Regions from separate parts of the Homo sapiens genome. Here regions 2, 3 and 4 are each linked to region 1. Evidence: promoter capture Hi-C in human tissues and cell types (Jung and others, 2019). All regions are on one chromosome and are shown on one strand. The core of a region is centred on a gene start or on the middle of the fragment in contact, and the rest is flanking DNA. Distances in the headings are between cores, read along the strand shown. Region 1 holds the start of ATXN2L (ataxin 2 like). Region 2 holds the start of TBX6 (T-box transcription factor 6). Region 3 holds the start of SEZ6L2 (seizure related 6 homolog like 2). Region 4 overlaps MVP (major vault protein).

Region 1 (3,539 bases), core at 493-2,992:
TAACCAAAAAGCCACGCCAGCTGTGAGGGCAAAAGCTCCAGGAGTGCAGCTTTGGAACTACCTAGCTCAGGTACATTACCTCCCAAACAGAAAAGACAATCATTTTCAGCAGCCTGACGCCTCAAAACTGTGGGAGGAGGGGTATCCCCTCCACACCCCATCCCCTCGACCTCATGACTCATTCAGCCCGTTACCCACTCTGCGGGGATCACCAATCGCCAGGTAACCCTGCTCGTCGCTGGCTGATGTAACCGGCGGTTGAGGGCGAAGAGGGGGCCGCTGGCGGGGCTGGGGGACAGCGCAGCCGCAAAAGCCATCCACCGGGAGGCCTCGCCCGGTCTGCGCCTGCGCACTAAAACCCACGGGACTTTCCGAACCCCCACCTCCAGCGATCAGAGCCCACTGCGCCTGCGTGTGCTGCCACTCTTAATTCCATTAACACACACACACTCGCACAGGAAAAACTGAGCAGGGCCTCCACTACTCATGCACTGCCACCAGACGAGCCCCTCCACGAACTAGTCCCTGCCCTAGGTGTTCCCGGGGCGCGCGAATGCCCGGGTCATGAGACCGAGCATCCACGCGCACGTACGGGAAGGGGGCGCGCGCGCCAGAGGCTCCCGGCCCGCAGTCCTCCCAGTCATCCCTCCTTCCGTCCCCCCGCCCACCTCGCTCCCCTCCTACTGGCCAGACCGGGAAGGGGGAGGCAGCAACCCGCTCCCAAGTCCCTCCCTCCCCATTGGCCAAACTGTGGGCCGCGCGCCCCCCTCCATTGGCTACGGCCGGGGACCCCTTCCCGCAGCAGACTCCCCATTGGCTGAAGCCGGGGACCGCGAGACCCTTCGTGGTAATGGAACCGGGGACCCCGATCAGCTCCTTGCCCCCCCCCAACTCCCCGTTCCGACGGCGCCGGCGGGATGCGCCCCGCCTCCCCTGAAGGCCGGGGCTGCGAGCCCTGACTAGGCCCCGAGAGCCGAGCGCGGCCCCTCAGTGCTCCGGTGGCCGCCCGGGGACCCTTTCCGTCCGACCTGTTCGGACCTGAGGGGGCCCTCCCCCAGCTTCACGGGGACTCCCCACCCAGCCGGTGCCCCTGACGGTGCCGGGTCGGGGTCCGCCCCACCGGAACCGAGCCACAGCCTCTGGGTGGCCGCGGCTCCCTCGCCCGGAGCCCACCCTTCTCACCTGGCGCTGCCGATGGCGGCTGCCCCCGGCCTCTCCTGGTGTTGCTGCGGCGGCGGCGGCTGCGGCGCCAAGATGCCTTCGGCTCCCCGGCGGAGCCCGCTCCCGGCAGCGGCCACAGGCCCCAGGCAGGGGGAGGCGGCCGCTGGAGGCCCGGGAGGAGCCGCAGAGGTGGCCAGCGGCCCCGGGAGGCCGCCGTTGGGAGGGCTGGTGCCCCCGGGGGGCCGACGGGCCACGGCCTGTTGCGTGGGGGGCGGCTGCTGGGGCTGGGAGGGCTGTTGTAGCGGCTGAGGCTTCAACATGATGGCAGCGTCCGGAAGGGGAATTAGAGAGAAGGGAGGGAGAGAGGGGGCCGGGGCTGGGGCCCCGCTGGAGAGCGCGGGAAGCGAGGGGGATCGGGCAGCCGGGGCCCGCCGTGGGCGGGCGGGGGGAGCCCCGCGGTGTCGGGGGTGGAGAGAGAAGACCGCGGCGCGAGGAAGCGCCGCGAGGCGGAAGGGGAGGGGGTCTCGCGGCTGGAGGAAAGCGAGAGGGCGCGAGCCGGGCTGGCGCGCGTGCGCGTCGCCGGGGAGCGGAGAGGGAGGAGCGCGCGGGTGGGAGCTCCCGGGGGGGGGGGGGGGGGGGGGGGGCCAGGAGCGAGCAGTGGCGCGAGGTGCCGCGCACACCGGCGCGGTTAGCTCCCGGCGGGAAAGTGGGAGAGAATCAAGTCGGTGAACCTCGCACCCCTAGCCCTGGGAGTGGGTAAGGAGCGGCGCGGGCGCTCACGCGCGCCAAGGATTTAGGGTCTTAAGGTCTCAAACCGCCTTAGAAGCCGGCGGCCGCTGTCGCTTCACAATGAGCGTGTGAGGCGCAGGGGGAGGAGCCGAAGGCGCCAGAGGAAGGGCCGGCCTCTCCGCCCACGCCGTCGCTGCGTCGCGATGCCTCCGCGGGAGTGTGAGGCGGCACGTCGTGCGTGAGGCTCTTCCGCCACTTGGCGGCCCGTGGGCAGAGCCTTAAGTGCCAAGAAAGTCTCCGGGACTGGACCACCCGAGCCACTGCGCTTTTAGGCAGGTGGTAGGTTTCGCAAGGAGCTACCCTCCACCTTGTTTGCTTTAAGTAAAAGACTGATGAGCATTAGTGATTCGTTTGAGCGTGTTGATCTTTGCAGATAAATTTACGCCTCGTCCTAAATTATTTCAGATTTTTGTGATTTTGACCTAAATTGTTCCTCCATGCCCGAGAATGAATCTTTAAACTGTAATAACAAAGACTGAAGGCCAAAGTTCCGAGTTCAAAATCCTCCACCCGACCCTGCAATGAAGGCAGCTTCATTCATTCAAAATGAGTTGGGCATTGGAGTATTCAGTTAGTTGTTTTGGACACAAGGATAATTAAACTGCTTCCTGCTCTGGAGGAGTTCATGCTAGTGGTGAATTCAGAGAATTTGACGAGATCTAGTAGGTGAAGCACAGAGGACTACAAGAGCAAATGGGAGTGACACCTAATCTTAATCCAGTTTTGGGAGACCCAGATAAGGGACAGGAGGGCCGGGCGCAGTGGCTCATACCTGTAATCCTAACATTTTGGGAGTCCGAGGCAGAAGGATCGTTTAAGGCCAGGAGTTTGAGACCAGCCTAGGCAACAAAGTGAGACTTTGTCTCTACAAAAAAAAAAAAATTTAAATTATAAAAAAAAACTGATAAGAGGGCAGGGGGAGATGGGTTTCTAGGCAGGGAAATAGGATATGACAAACTAAGAAAAACTCAGCTTGTCCTAAGCATAAAATTAAAGGGGGGAAGAGGTAGCTAATCTGGGATCAGGTTTTAAAGGCTCCCAAGTCTTGTAAGAGACACGGACATTATCCTCAAAGCAGTGGGGAGCTTATTTAAGAAAGTGAAAAGAGGCTGGGCATGGTCTGTAATCCCAGTACTTTGGGAGGTTTGAGGTCAGGAGTTTGAGATCAGCCTGGCCAACATGGTGAAACCCTGTCTCTACTAAAAATGCAAAAATTAGCTAGGCGTGGTGGTGCATGCCTGTAATCCCAGCTACTCAGGAGGCTGAGGCAGGAGAATCACTTGAACCAAGGAGGCGGAGGTTGCCGTGAGCCCAGATCGCACCACTGCACTCCAGCCTGGGTGACAGAGCAAGACTCCTTCCCCCCAAAACAAACAAAAAAACAAGTGAAAAGAGGTCAGATTTGCATTTTTAAAGGTTTACTCTTTGCAACGTGGAGAATGGAGTGGAGCTGTTAAGTCCATGTGGTCTTAATCCCAGCGAAACTCTCAATGTCTCAATCTCTTCGCTCTAAATGTTAGCATTGGAACTCTTCCCAGCCCCTGCACCAAACACATGCACACCTAGCTACAACACTGCCTTACTTTTTG
Region 2 (3,539 bases), core at 620-3,119, 1.3 Mb before region 1:
CACGGTGAAACCCCATCTCTACCAAAAATACAAAAAAAAAAAAAAAAAATCAGCTGGGTGTGGTGGCGGGCGCCTCTAGTCCCAGCTACTCATGAGGTTGAGGCAGGAGAATTGCGTGAACCCAGGAGGCAGAGCCTTGCAGTGAGCGGAGACAGAGCGAGACTCCGTTTCAAAAATAATAATAATTAATAAAGAGCTGGCCTAAACAAGAGGTCAAAAACTCAAGTGCCAGGCTGGGTGTGGTGGCTCACGCCTGTAATCCCAGCACTTTTGGGAGTCTGAGGCAGGTGGATCACCTGAGGTCAGGAGTTCGAGAACAGCCTGACTAACATGGTGAAACCCCATCTCTACTAAAAATACAAAAATTAGCTCGGCGTGGTGGTGGGCGCCTGTAATCCCAGCTACTCGGGGCCAAGGCAGCAGAATCACTTGAACCCGGGAAGCGGAGGTTGCAGTGAGCCGATATCGCGCCGTTGCACTTCCAGCCTGGGCGACAGAGCAAGACTCCCTCTCAAAACCAAACAAACAAAAAAACCTCAAGTGCCTGCAAGGCCAAGCAGATACTGTAGATGTGTAAAGGGTAGCATAGATTGGCAGGGTTGGGAGTTGGGGGCAGGCTGGGCAAACTGGAGTGAGCAAGGCCTACTTATATTTTAATACTTTAAAGTTATTTTTATTAAACTGTCTGCTGTCCAAACATAATACATGTTGTAGGCCAAAATGGCCATGAAGCTACCAGTTTGCAAACCCTGAACTGTGAAATCTTTTAGCCACTTCCCTATCTTCTCTGTTGGAGCCATCATTAGTACTTAAAAAAGTACCTTTGAGTCAGGGAGTTCTATTCTACTCTGTGTTTGTGAGAAATACGGCCCTGCCCCTCTGGGCCACAGTTTCCTCATATGTAAAATGGGGCCACTCATGTCCACTTCCCAACCCCAGTGCCTTGTGGTGAGACTGTTGCTCCGGGGATGACGGTCCCGCCCCTCCTTTCAGGAACAGGCCTTTGAGAGCAGCCAGAAGTACAAAGAGGGGAAGTACATCATTGAACTCAACCACATGATCAAAGACAACGGCTGGGACTGACCCCCGCTCCCCCGACGCATGTGGCTCCAGCCCGGCCTGGCCGCCAGGGAGCGCCACTGGCTTCCCGCCACCCGAAGGGAGCTCTGGACCCTCAGAGCCCCTGCAGAGGACGGATCTAGCTCCTGTATATATATTTTATTGCATGCACTGTGACCTTGGGGGGAGAACAGAAGGGGGACGACGCCCCCGCACCTCCTGCGATCTGGCTGGCTTGGATCTCGTTTTTAACCCGTTCCTGCCCCACCTGCCCTATAGTTATGGCCTGTGTTCTGCTCTCCTGGTCCCAGTGCACCGTCTGCTCTGTGAACTCCTCCCACCAGGCCCTTCTTACCCCACGCGTGTCTGTCCCCCTCGTTCTGTAGCGTTTGTACATAATAAAACAATGGAGTGGAGACAGCTCAGGCTCGCGTGTAATCCGGGAAGGGGGAGCTCAAGCGGAGATTTCCGCCCCTATAGACCTGTGCGGTTCTGAGCCCCGGCGGGGCATGGGGTAGGCACAGCCGTCCAAGCTGGGTCTCCGGGAACCGGGACGGTTTCACTGCTGGCGGAGGTCCTGAGCCCACTCTGGCTGCCTACGCCGTGACCTCGGCTGATCTGCGTCTGCTCATCTGCAGCGTTTGGCCGCCGCCTAGGGGCAGCGTCCCAGGGAGGCAACCGCGCCGCCGGCCTCGCAGCCCCCTCGCGGTCGGACTGCAACTCCCAGCGGCCCCCGCGTGGTCCGTCCGGCTCCTTCGGGCGCGCCTCAGCGCTGAGCCTGCCGGGAAGTGTAGTTCCGAGGGTTCCCCAGCGCGGGACCTTCGGGAAACCCTGGCGCGAGGCGTCAGAAGCTGTCGGACTGTGAGCGCCTTCGAACTTTGGAGGCTTGGCTCGGGATGGAGGTTTTTTTAGCATGGGGACCAGGGAGGACTACGGTGCTCGGGACTGGGCTGCGGCCTCCTCGCGGCCCCGAGTGCCCTGTGAAATCAGCTCAGGCCGCGTCCCTCTAGCCTGCACTTTCCCTCTGTTCACGCTGCTTCCCTCCAGGGCCCGGCCTCCAAGTGAAGGGGGGCGGAGGGCGGTCACCTGCCAGAAGGTCTGGGGCGCCAAGGTGTGTCCCGGGACTCTTGGCTCCGTCCAGGTTCCAGGCCCCGCCCCCCAGCTTATCCCTAGCCGGGGCTCCCCACCGTGGGAACGGGGACCAGCTGGCCGGAAGCGCCAAACTGCGTCCCTGTCCGAGCCCTGGGGATCAATCAAGCCGAGGAGTTAATTATGTAATGAGGGGGCAGGGGGTCGAGGCTAATGAAGCCTCCCGGGGTGGGGAGGGAGGGGAGGAGGGGACCGTACCCAGGTATCCGACCCCCTCTCGGACCCCTTCGAGGCCCCAGGGGTCTCCACCCCAGCCCAACTCCAGGGCCCCAAAGAGGGGAGGGGCTGTGATCCTGGATCTGGAAGGGGCTGAGCTGTGAGCTATAAAGGGGGCATCTCGCAGCACCGGGGGCCCTAAGCAGCGAGACCTGAGGCCAGACGGAACTACAACATGTACCATCCACGAGAATTGTACCCGTCCCTGGGGGCCGGCTACCGCCTGGGGCCCGCCCAACCTGGGGCCGACTCCAGCTTCCCACCCGCCCTAGCGGAGGGCTACCGCTACCCCGGTGAGCGTTGGGACCAGCTCCTGGGTAGGAGAATAGGGGGGCTGTGGCCCTCGGCTGGCTCCTCATTCTTCCCCGGCTTCCAGAACTGGACACCCCTAAACTGGATTGCTTCCTCTCCGGGATGGAGGCTGCTCCCCGCACCCTGGCCGCGCACCCACCTCTGCCCCTTCTGCCCCCTGCCATGGGCACTGAGCCGGCCCCATCAGCTCCAGAGGCCCTCCATTCCCTCCCGGGGGTCAGCCTGAGCCTGGAGAACCGGGAGCTATGGAAGGAGTTCAGCTCTGTGGGAACAGAAATGATCATCACCAAAGCTGGGAGGTGAGGGGCTGGCCAGGGTCCGTGTTTCTGGTGGGGGTCTCTTGGGAAAGGCAGAGTCCCTGGGGAGGGGGCTAGGACTGGGTGGTTCCCGAGGGGCTAGAGCTCTGCCTAGGCCTAGAATCTGACTATGGCCTGGGGCAAGGGTTACTCTGTGGCAGGAATCAGGAGTCACTCTGTGACAAGGGTTAAGGGCCAGTCTGTGGAGTCTGTGGCTGAGTTTAGGGACCAATCTATGGCAAGGGTCATGGGTCAGTCTGGGGCAGGGTCAGGAAGTCCCTCTGGGTTATAGGTTAGTGTGTGGCTTAGACCAGCATCCAGACAAGGACAGGGGGTCAAGGGCCAGCCCATTGACCAGCATCAGGGAAATCTGGCCAGGATTCGGGATCAGTATGCAACTCGAATAGGAGTCAGTATATGACTAGGTCCAGGGTCACCCTAGAGGCAGGGACACGGTCAGTGTTTGACCTTAGATGAGGTCTTTAGCTGGGGCAGGAACTCAAGCCC
Region 3 (3,539 bases), core at 620-3,119, 1.1 Mb before region 1:
CCGCCGGCTCACTAGGCCTTCCGTCCTAGGTCCTTCCCCGGGATCCCCAGGACCCCCTGGGCTTGGCCCGCCGGCCTCCGAGCATCCCACAGGCCCACCACGAACACCCCCAGCTCGGCTCCCAGCCCCTAGGGCCTGCATGTCTTGGGAGCCCAGGCGGTAGCAGTACCAGAGGAACAGGGAAGTGAGGGCCCCGAAGAGCAAGGTGAGGGCCGAGGAGGCCAGGGGTAGTGGCCACGGGAGCATGATCAGGGAGGCCCTGGCCAAGAGGCCTGGGGCGTCCTCCGGACCCCAGTTCCCCTGTCCCCCCAGCTCCCCACCTGTCCCTTCCATGGCTGCCCCCTGGCTCCCCGCTGGACTGTTTCCCTTCCACATTCCACTCTGGGCTGTCTCTCTCTCCTTCCGCGGTCCTCTCTCCACGCTGAAGCTCCCTCTCCCCTCCTTCATGCACCTCCAACCCTCCTCTCTCCTTTCTCTCCCCTTTCTCTCTCCTTCTACCTCTTCTTCCTCCTCTCCCTCTGTCGCCTCCTCACCCTCTTCTTTCTCCTTCCAGCAGCCTCCTCTCTCTCGCTCTGCTTCTCTCTCCCACCTCAATCTCCCCCTTTCCTCCCCACCCCCGCTTTTCGCTCGCTCTCTCTCCCCGCTTCCTCCTAGCTCCCCTGGGCAGCGGTTCCTACCCTGCCTGGACCTGCAGTCCCGGGAACCCGCAGCCTGTCTTCCTCCGCGGCAGCTTCTTTCTCTCCGGCCTCACTGCTCTCTCCTTGCCCTCGCTCCTCACTAGCCCCGACCCTGCGGTCCTGCCTGGCTCTCGCTCCCTCTCTCCTACTCGCTCCTTCCTGGGCTCCCACTCACCCTGACGTCACTCCTTCCCGGAGCCCTCTCAGCTCAGCCACCCCCGAACCCTCCCAGTGGCACAGCAAATCAGCCGGGTGCCGGGGGAGGGGGGAGAGTTGTCGCTGGAGGTGCCTCCCCACCCCCCCCGCCCGGAAAGGGCGCCACGTGGGGCGCAGGGGCCACGGTGCCAGCCTCCAGCCGTCCCGCAATGCGAAAGAAGGGGCGGGTCGTATCGGGCGGGGCCTGAGGGGCGGGGCCTGAGGGGCGGGGCGAGCGCGGACTGACGGCTGGGCAGGCGCCCGGGACTGCGGGCAAGGATGCTGAGGCCAGTCCGTCGGGCGGCTGGTCCGTCGGTCGGTCGGCCTGTGACTCCCGCTGGCCCTAGGCAGCCCGGGAGCCCGCGAGCCTGGCAAACACCGAAAGCGGCCTCAGCCAATCGCGGGCGGCGTCGGGCCGGGCCCGCCCCGGCGGGGCGAGGGGAGCTGTCCGCGCGCCGCTGGTGCTGAAAAGGGCGCTCCGGAGGGAAAATCAGAGCCGAGGCCGCCTGTTAGCTGGCCGGGGTCAGGGTTTATGGAAGAGGAGGGGTCTGTCTCTCCTCCCCAAACCCCGGCCCGTCACCCACGAGACTTGTCACAATCGTGGAAGCTCTCTATTCCCCTGGAGGAGGGAGAGCCCATTCCACCCGAGCTACTGTAAAAGGGGAAGGGAAGCCCCTTGGGAGGTCTGAATGTGAACAGGGGGCATAATTGGGGGCCTAGCAGGCGCGAACCAAGCTATGCAGCCCCTCGGCACCCTGGGAAGAGGAGATTCAGATTCCAGATGTGCTGGAATGGCAGGCGGAGGGGGCTAATTACTGCTGGGACCAGAGAGTTTCCTTTGCCTCCCCTAGGGGCCGCGGGAGTGAGGATTACGGCCCTGGCTCGTATGATCCCTCCCTCCTCCATCTGCACTTCCTCCTCCTCCCTCCCCGTCAAATAAATCCCAGGCCCCTCCCTCCGCCCGTCCCCAGGATCTGACGTGGGCTCGATACCTTTCTCAGCTTCTCCCTCCCGCAGCTCCAGTGCCCGAGCTTCGGCTCTCCCAGTTCCCCAACCCACCCCTTCCCCTCCCCGACAAGCCCCGCTAGAGCCCAGTGGAGACCCCCTCGATCCTCGACCCCACCCTAAACCCCCAGAAGCTGTCTTTCTCCTCCCCAGTCCCCTAGCTTGGGGTCCAGACAGCCCAGTGGACCCAGGCGCCTGAGCAGGAGGGTAACCCAGGCCACCCGGCCCCTTCGGCCCTCTCGGCCCCACCCCCTGCAGCCGGAGCCGCGCCCCCTCCACCACAGAGCCGCGAGAAGAGGACAGAGGAGACTGAGCAAAGGGGGGTGGGCTCCAGGCGACCCCTAGCCCAATTCTGCCCCTCCATCCCAAGGGGCAGAGAAATTGTCTTTCTTTGCTGACTCCTACGAGGAAAAAAAAAAAAAAAAAAAAAACAATTAAAGGGAAAGATAAACGGAGACGGAGGAAAGGTGGCAGCCAGATTACTTAGAGAGGCACAGAGGAGAGAGATCGGGGTGAGTCGCCATGGGGACTCCCAGGGCCCAGCACCCGCCGCCTCCCCAGCTGCTGTTCCTAATTCTGCTGAGCTGTCCCTGGATCCAGGGTAAGGACATGAGACTGTGGGGGTGGGCCCCAGGAAGGCGTCCAGCGGGGTCCTCCACCCTCCTTTCTCTTAATATCCTGGGTCTTCCGAGCACATGGGGGAGGGGAGAGGCACAGCTGATGGGGAAGGGGCAAGCCAGAGCTTTCAGGCTTGAACCCGAAGCCCCTTAACCCTCAATATTGAGAAGGCAGAGAAATGAATGAGAGAAGCTTTTAGCAGTGTCTCAGGGGCTAGATCCAAGAAGGAGGGCTGGGAAAGTTGGGGGGATGTCTGCGGAGGCGGCAGAAGCATGGAGGGACCTGGGTGGGAGATGGAGGTGCTGAGAGAGATGCCAGGCGCTGTACACACAACTGTTCTTGGATGAATGGACAAAGACAGATGAGCAGAGGCAGGGCTCAAAGACCAGATTTTCAGTCCCCCACTCTGACCCCCAGCCAGACTCCAGGGAAGGAGGCAGAGACTGCAGAGGACCAGAGAGAGAGAGGGTGGGGGGGAGAGAGAGAGAGAGAGAGAGAGAAAAGACAGCCACACTGCAGAGACAGAAACCCAGAGAGAAAGCCAGGCACTGCGGAAGCAAGGGCTGGGAGGTGCGGCCAGATCCTCTGCAGAGCCCCAGGGTTGGGGGGAGATCACCACTGAGGTGAAAGGGAAGGCAGCACCGGCGACCCCTCTGCCTTGCTGGCGCTGTCCAGGGTCCATAAGAGCTAAGGTGTTCAATGAAGGCCCACACAGCCCAGGGAGAAGGGAGAGGGGAGGGGAGAGAAGAGGTGTGGGAGTGGGAGTATGAGGGCAGCTGGGAGCCCCTCCTCCGATCTTGGCCCTCAGTCGAGCCTGGGACCATCTGAGCCCCTGCAGGCCCAGCTGATGGAGGAGGGAGGAAGAGTTCTAGAAAATATCTCTCTGGAGAAGGAAGGGGTGTGGGGAAGTGGAGAAGCTCACACAACTTCACCTCCTAGGTCTGCCCCTGAAGGAGGAGGAGATATTGCCAGAGCCTGGAAGTGAGACCCCCACGGTGGCCTCTGAGGCCCTGGCTGAACTGCTTCATGGGGCCCTGCTGAGGA
Region 4 (3,539 bases), core at 1-2,500, 1.0 Mb before region 1:
TGAGGAATCTAGGGAATATAACCAGTGCTGGGGGCTCCCCACCTGAGCTGGCATGCTGGTTTAAGCCTCAGTTGTTTACTGGTCAGTGGCTTATTTCACCCCAGCTGCAGGGATGGAACAGCAAGTAGGGGCTTTACTGCCAAGTGAAGCTTTTTCCACTGCTCCCTTGGAGGGTTCTCCGCAGGGCCGAAACCTGGCCAGGAAACCAGATGGGAGAAGAGGAAGGGCTGGGGCTGTGAGCGGAGGTATGGACAGGGCTCTGAGGCCCCCCCAGGAAAGATTTGAACTCTAGAAGGCCGTGCAAGGTTGGAAGCAGGCTCTGGGAACAGCCTCCATTTGGTTCATCAGTGGATAATCTCCCCAACACCCCCCACAGCTGAGGCCTCTCCACCATCTGCCGCCCCAGCTGGGCCCAGTCAGGGGGTCTGAATGCCTCGCCCAGCTCAGTGACTCAGCAAGAGTCATCCTCATGGCTGGACTCCTGCCTTGTTCTGAGGCCAAGCCCTCGGCAACTGCCCCTGCATCAGCACCAGGACCCCACCTCACCTCCCTGACCACCCACCTGCCATGCCCTAAACCTGGGCCTTCTGCCTAGACCACCCAGGACAGGTCTTGCCTTCTACCCTCGCCATCTATGGAGGTGAGCCAGGGAAACCCTTTGACTCAGGCAGCACATTGGTGACAAGTCTCAGATTGAGTTTTTTGTGGTTTCCTTCCAGATGACATGCGCAGTTAGAGCATTTTACTTAAAATAGATCAGGGCCCTCAAAAGACAATAGCAAGGATTGTGTTGACCTTTGGAAGGCTCTGCCCAGCCCTCAGGCTTGGCCCCTGCTCCCCAGATCCACTCATCCACCCAACTTCCTTCAGTCTCTGCTTCTGAGACCTGCCCTAGTCGGCTCTCAGTGTAGAGGCCCAGTCTTGCCTGATCACACCTCCCTCAGGTGTCATGAGGCTCCTGCAAGAACCACAGCCAGCTTTCACCCCAAATCCCACCAGGGTCTCTCCCACCATGAGGGTAAATAAGCAGGAACTAAATAGCCTGTCCAAAGCAGAAACCAGGTTCATTGTCTAGTTAAAAGAGGGGCTCTTGCCTGAGAGAGGTGGCTCACACCTGTAATCCCAACACTTTGGGAGGCCGAAGGTGGGAGGATGGATTGAGGCCAGGAGTTCAAGACCAGCTTGGGCAACATAGCAAGGCCCCATCTCTTTAAAGAAAGAAAAAAAAAAAAAAGAGGGAGACCGGATCAGACTCTTGGCTCAAAAGTAAACTTCTGCTACAGCAAAACTTAATAAATAAACGAGTCATGAGTCACTACTTCCCAGAGATCTTCAGGGTCAACTGTGAGTAGCTGATATACTGAATCTCTTTTTTGTTTTTTTTGGAGACTGTAGCCCAGGCTGGAGTGAAGTGGCACAATCTCGGCTCACTGCAACGTCCACCTACCTCCCAGGTTCAAGCAATTCTCGTGCCTCAGCCTCCCGAGTAGCTGGAATTACAGGCACATGCCACCAAGCCTGGCTAATTTTTTGTATTTTAGTAGAGATGGGGTTTCACCCCAGGGTGGTCTCAAACTCCTGAGCTCAGGCAATCTGCCTGCCTCAGCCTCCCAAAGTGCTAGGATTACAGGCGTGAACCACCACACCTGGCCCCTAGTGAGTCTTAAATGGCAATTGACCAAGTGACCACACTGCCTACGGGGTCTGCAGTGAGTAGAGTGGTACCACCTGGAGGCTTGATAGCAACACAGCCTGGGGCCCCACCCCAGAGCCACTGAATCTACTGGCATTTTAACTCGACCCTCAATGACTTGCATGCACATTACAGTCTGAGCAGCTCTGGTCTAAAGCAGACTCTCGGCTCGGGCTGCACACTGGTCATCTGGAAATCTGTTTTTTTTTTTTTTTTTTTTTTTTTTTTTTGAGATGGAGTTTCGTGCTTGTTGCCCAGACTGGAGTGTAGCCATCTCGGCTCACTGCAACCTCTGCCTCCCGAGTTCAAGCAATTCTCCTGCTTCAGCCTCCCAAGTAGCTGGGATTACAGATGTCCGCCACCACACCCAGATAATTTTGTTTTTAGTGGACAGGGTTTCGCCATGTTGGTCAGGCTGGAAGTGATCCACCCACCTCGGCCTCCCAAAGGGCTAGGATAACAGGTGTGATCTGCCGCGCCAGGCCTTCTGGAGACCTTTTTTTAAAGCCACCCATCTCCGGTGATTCTATTTAATTGGTCTGGGTGAGGTTCACCCGTTGCTATTGTAAAAAGTTCTCCCTCATTTTTTTTTTTTTTTTCTGAGACGAGTCTCGCTCTGTCACCCAGGCTGGAGTGCAGTGGCACGATCTCGGATCACTGCAGCTCCGCCTCCCGGGTTCATGCCATTCTCCTGCCTCAGCTGGGATTACAGGCACCCACCACCACGCCTAGCTAATTTTTTTTGTATTTTTAGTAGAGATGGGGTTTCACTGTGTTAGCCAGGATGGTCTTGATCTCCTAACCTCGTGATCCGCCTGCCTTGGCCTCCCAAAGTGCTGGGATTACAGGCGTGAGCCACCGCGCCTGGCCTCTGACTCTTAATATATATCCAGGATTGAGAGCCAGTGGGAAAATGTCACTCCAGCAGGTTTTATCACTGCCAGCATGCTCCTGGGCCACTTACTAGCCTCTGAGCCTTCCTCTCCAGTGAAGTGAGAATAAAAGTGACTGTTGACTAGGCTTGGTGGCTCCCACCTGTAATCCCAGCACTTTGGGAGACCAAGATGGGAGGATCACTTGAGGCCAGGAGTTCAAGACCAGCCTGGGCAACATAGGGAGACCCTGTCTCTATAAAAACCATAAAAAATATTAGCTAGGTGTGGTGGTGCACACCTGTGGTCCCTGCTACTTTGGAGGCTGAGGTGGGAGGATCGCCTGTGCCTGGGAGGTCAAGGCTGCAGTGAGCCGTAAATGGAGCACACGAGTGCGCTCTAGCCTGGGCAAGAGTGAGGCCATCTCAAAAAAAAAAAAAAAAAAAAGAAAAGAAAAGAAAAGGAAAAAAAAATGACTGCTCTTCAAGTCAAAGGTATTAGAGACTGGAGGGTCTCTGGTGCACAGTAGGAACTGGGAGGAGGATAAAGATCAGTTTCAGGCCGGGCGCAGTGGCTGTAATCCCAGCACTTTGGGAGGCCAAGGCAGGCGGATTGCCTGAGCTCAGGAGTTCGAGACCAGCCTGGCCAACATGGTGAAACTTCGTCTCTACTAAAAATACAAAAATTAGCCGTACATGGTGGCAGGCAACTGTAGTCTCAGCTACTCGGGAGGCTGAGGCAGGAGAATTGCTTGAACCAGGGATGCAGAGGTTGCAGTGAGTCGAGATTGCGCCATTGTACTCTGGCCTGGGGGACAGAGCGAGACTCTGTCTCAAAAACAAAAACACAGCTCCGATTGCAGGCTGTGAAGGGCAGGGAATTGCACTCATTCTCCTCCAGCCCCTTCCCTTACCCAGGTCCAGGCAGCCTCCTTTGTCCCCAACCCCAGGGCTCTTGCTCCAGGCAGTCCTGAG

The links. The method cuts DNA at HindIII sites, captures the fragments that hold promoters and counts their contacts. A contact is called where the count stands out against the background at its distance.
Region 2: a contact is called between the fragment with the promoter of TBX6 here and the fragment with the promoter of ATXN2L in region 1, in 1 of the 25 tissues and cell types used here (spleen).
Region 3: the fragment with the promoter of SEZ6L2 here is called in contact with the fragment with the promoter of ATXN2L in region 1 in 1 of the 25 tissues and cell types used here (dorsolateral prefrontal cortex).
Region 4: a contact is called between a fragment that was not itself captured here and the fragment with the promoter of ATXN2L in region 1, in 1 of the 25 tissues and cell types used here (dorsolateral prefrontal cortex).

What each region holds. Positions count from the first base shown.
Region 1 is chr16:28,821,202-28,824,740 of GRCh38, reverse strand. ATXN2L (ataxin 2 like) reads right to left here and starts at 1,742. Exons shown (of 22, transcript NM_007245.4): 1 at 1,183-1,742. The coding sequence starts at 1,481. It overlaps LOC124903672 (a long non-coding RNA gene), which reads left to right and starts at 699. Exons shown (of 2, transcript XR_007065042.1): 1 at 699-847. RefSeq lists a silencer at 536-1,685 and enhancers at 2,006-2,215, 1,727-2,463. The HindIII fragment of the contact is 10,837 bases long and covers 1-3,539 here.
Region 2 is chr16:30,090,254-30,093,792 of GRCh38, reverse strand. It overlaps TBX6 (T-box transcription factor 6), which reads left to right and starts at 1,869. Exons shown (of 9, transcript NM_004608.4): 1 at 1,869-1,920; 2 at 2,552-2,717; 3 at 2,801-3,035. The coding sequence starts at 2,600. It overlaps YPEL3 (yippee like 3), which reads left to right. Exons shown (of 4, transcript NM_031477.5): 4 at 994-1,479. The coding sequence ends at 1,083. RefSeq lists enhancers at 1,210-1,399, 2,532-3,405 and a silencer at 1,620-1,879. The HindIII fragment of the contact is 30,865 bases long and covers 1-3,539 here.
Region 3 is chr16:29,897,880-29,901,418 of GRCh38, reverse strand. SEZ6L2 (seizure related 6 homolog like 2) reads left to right here and starts at 1,869. Exons shown (of 18, transcript NM_001243332.2): 1 at 1,869-2,478; 2 at 3,435-3,539. The coding sequence starts at 2,400. It overlaps ASPHD1 (aspartate beta-hydroxylase domain containing 1), which reads right to left and starts at 931. Exons shown (of 3, transcript NM_181718.4): 1 at 1-931. The coding sequence starts at 447. RefSeq lists a silencer at 884-1,313 and an enhancer at 1,677-1,971. The HindIII fragment of the contact is 10,220 bases long and covers 1-3,539 here.
Region 4 is chr16:29,822,596-29,826,134 of GRCh38, reverse strand. The region is part of intron 1 of MVP (major vault protein); the gene reads right to left. Among named protein-coding and RNA genes, the nearest start is that of MVP, 3.9 kb to the right of the region's middle. RefSeq lists enhancers at 1-551, 738-867, 928-1,007. The HindIII fragment of the contact is 4,985 bases long and covers 1-3,539 here.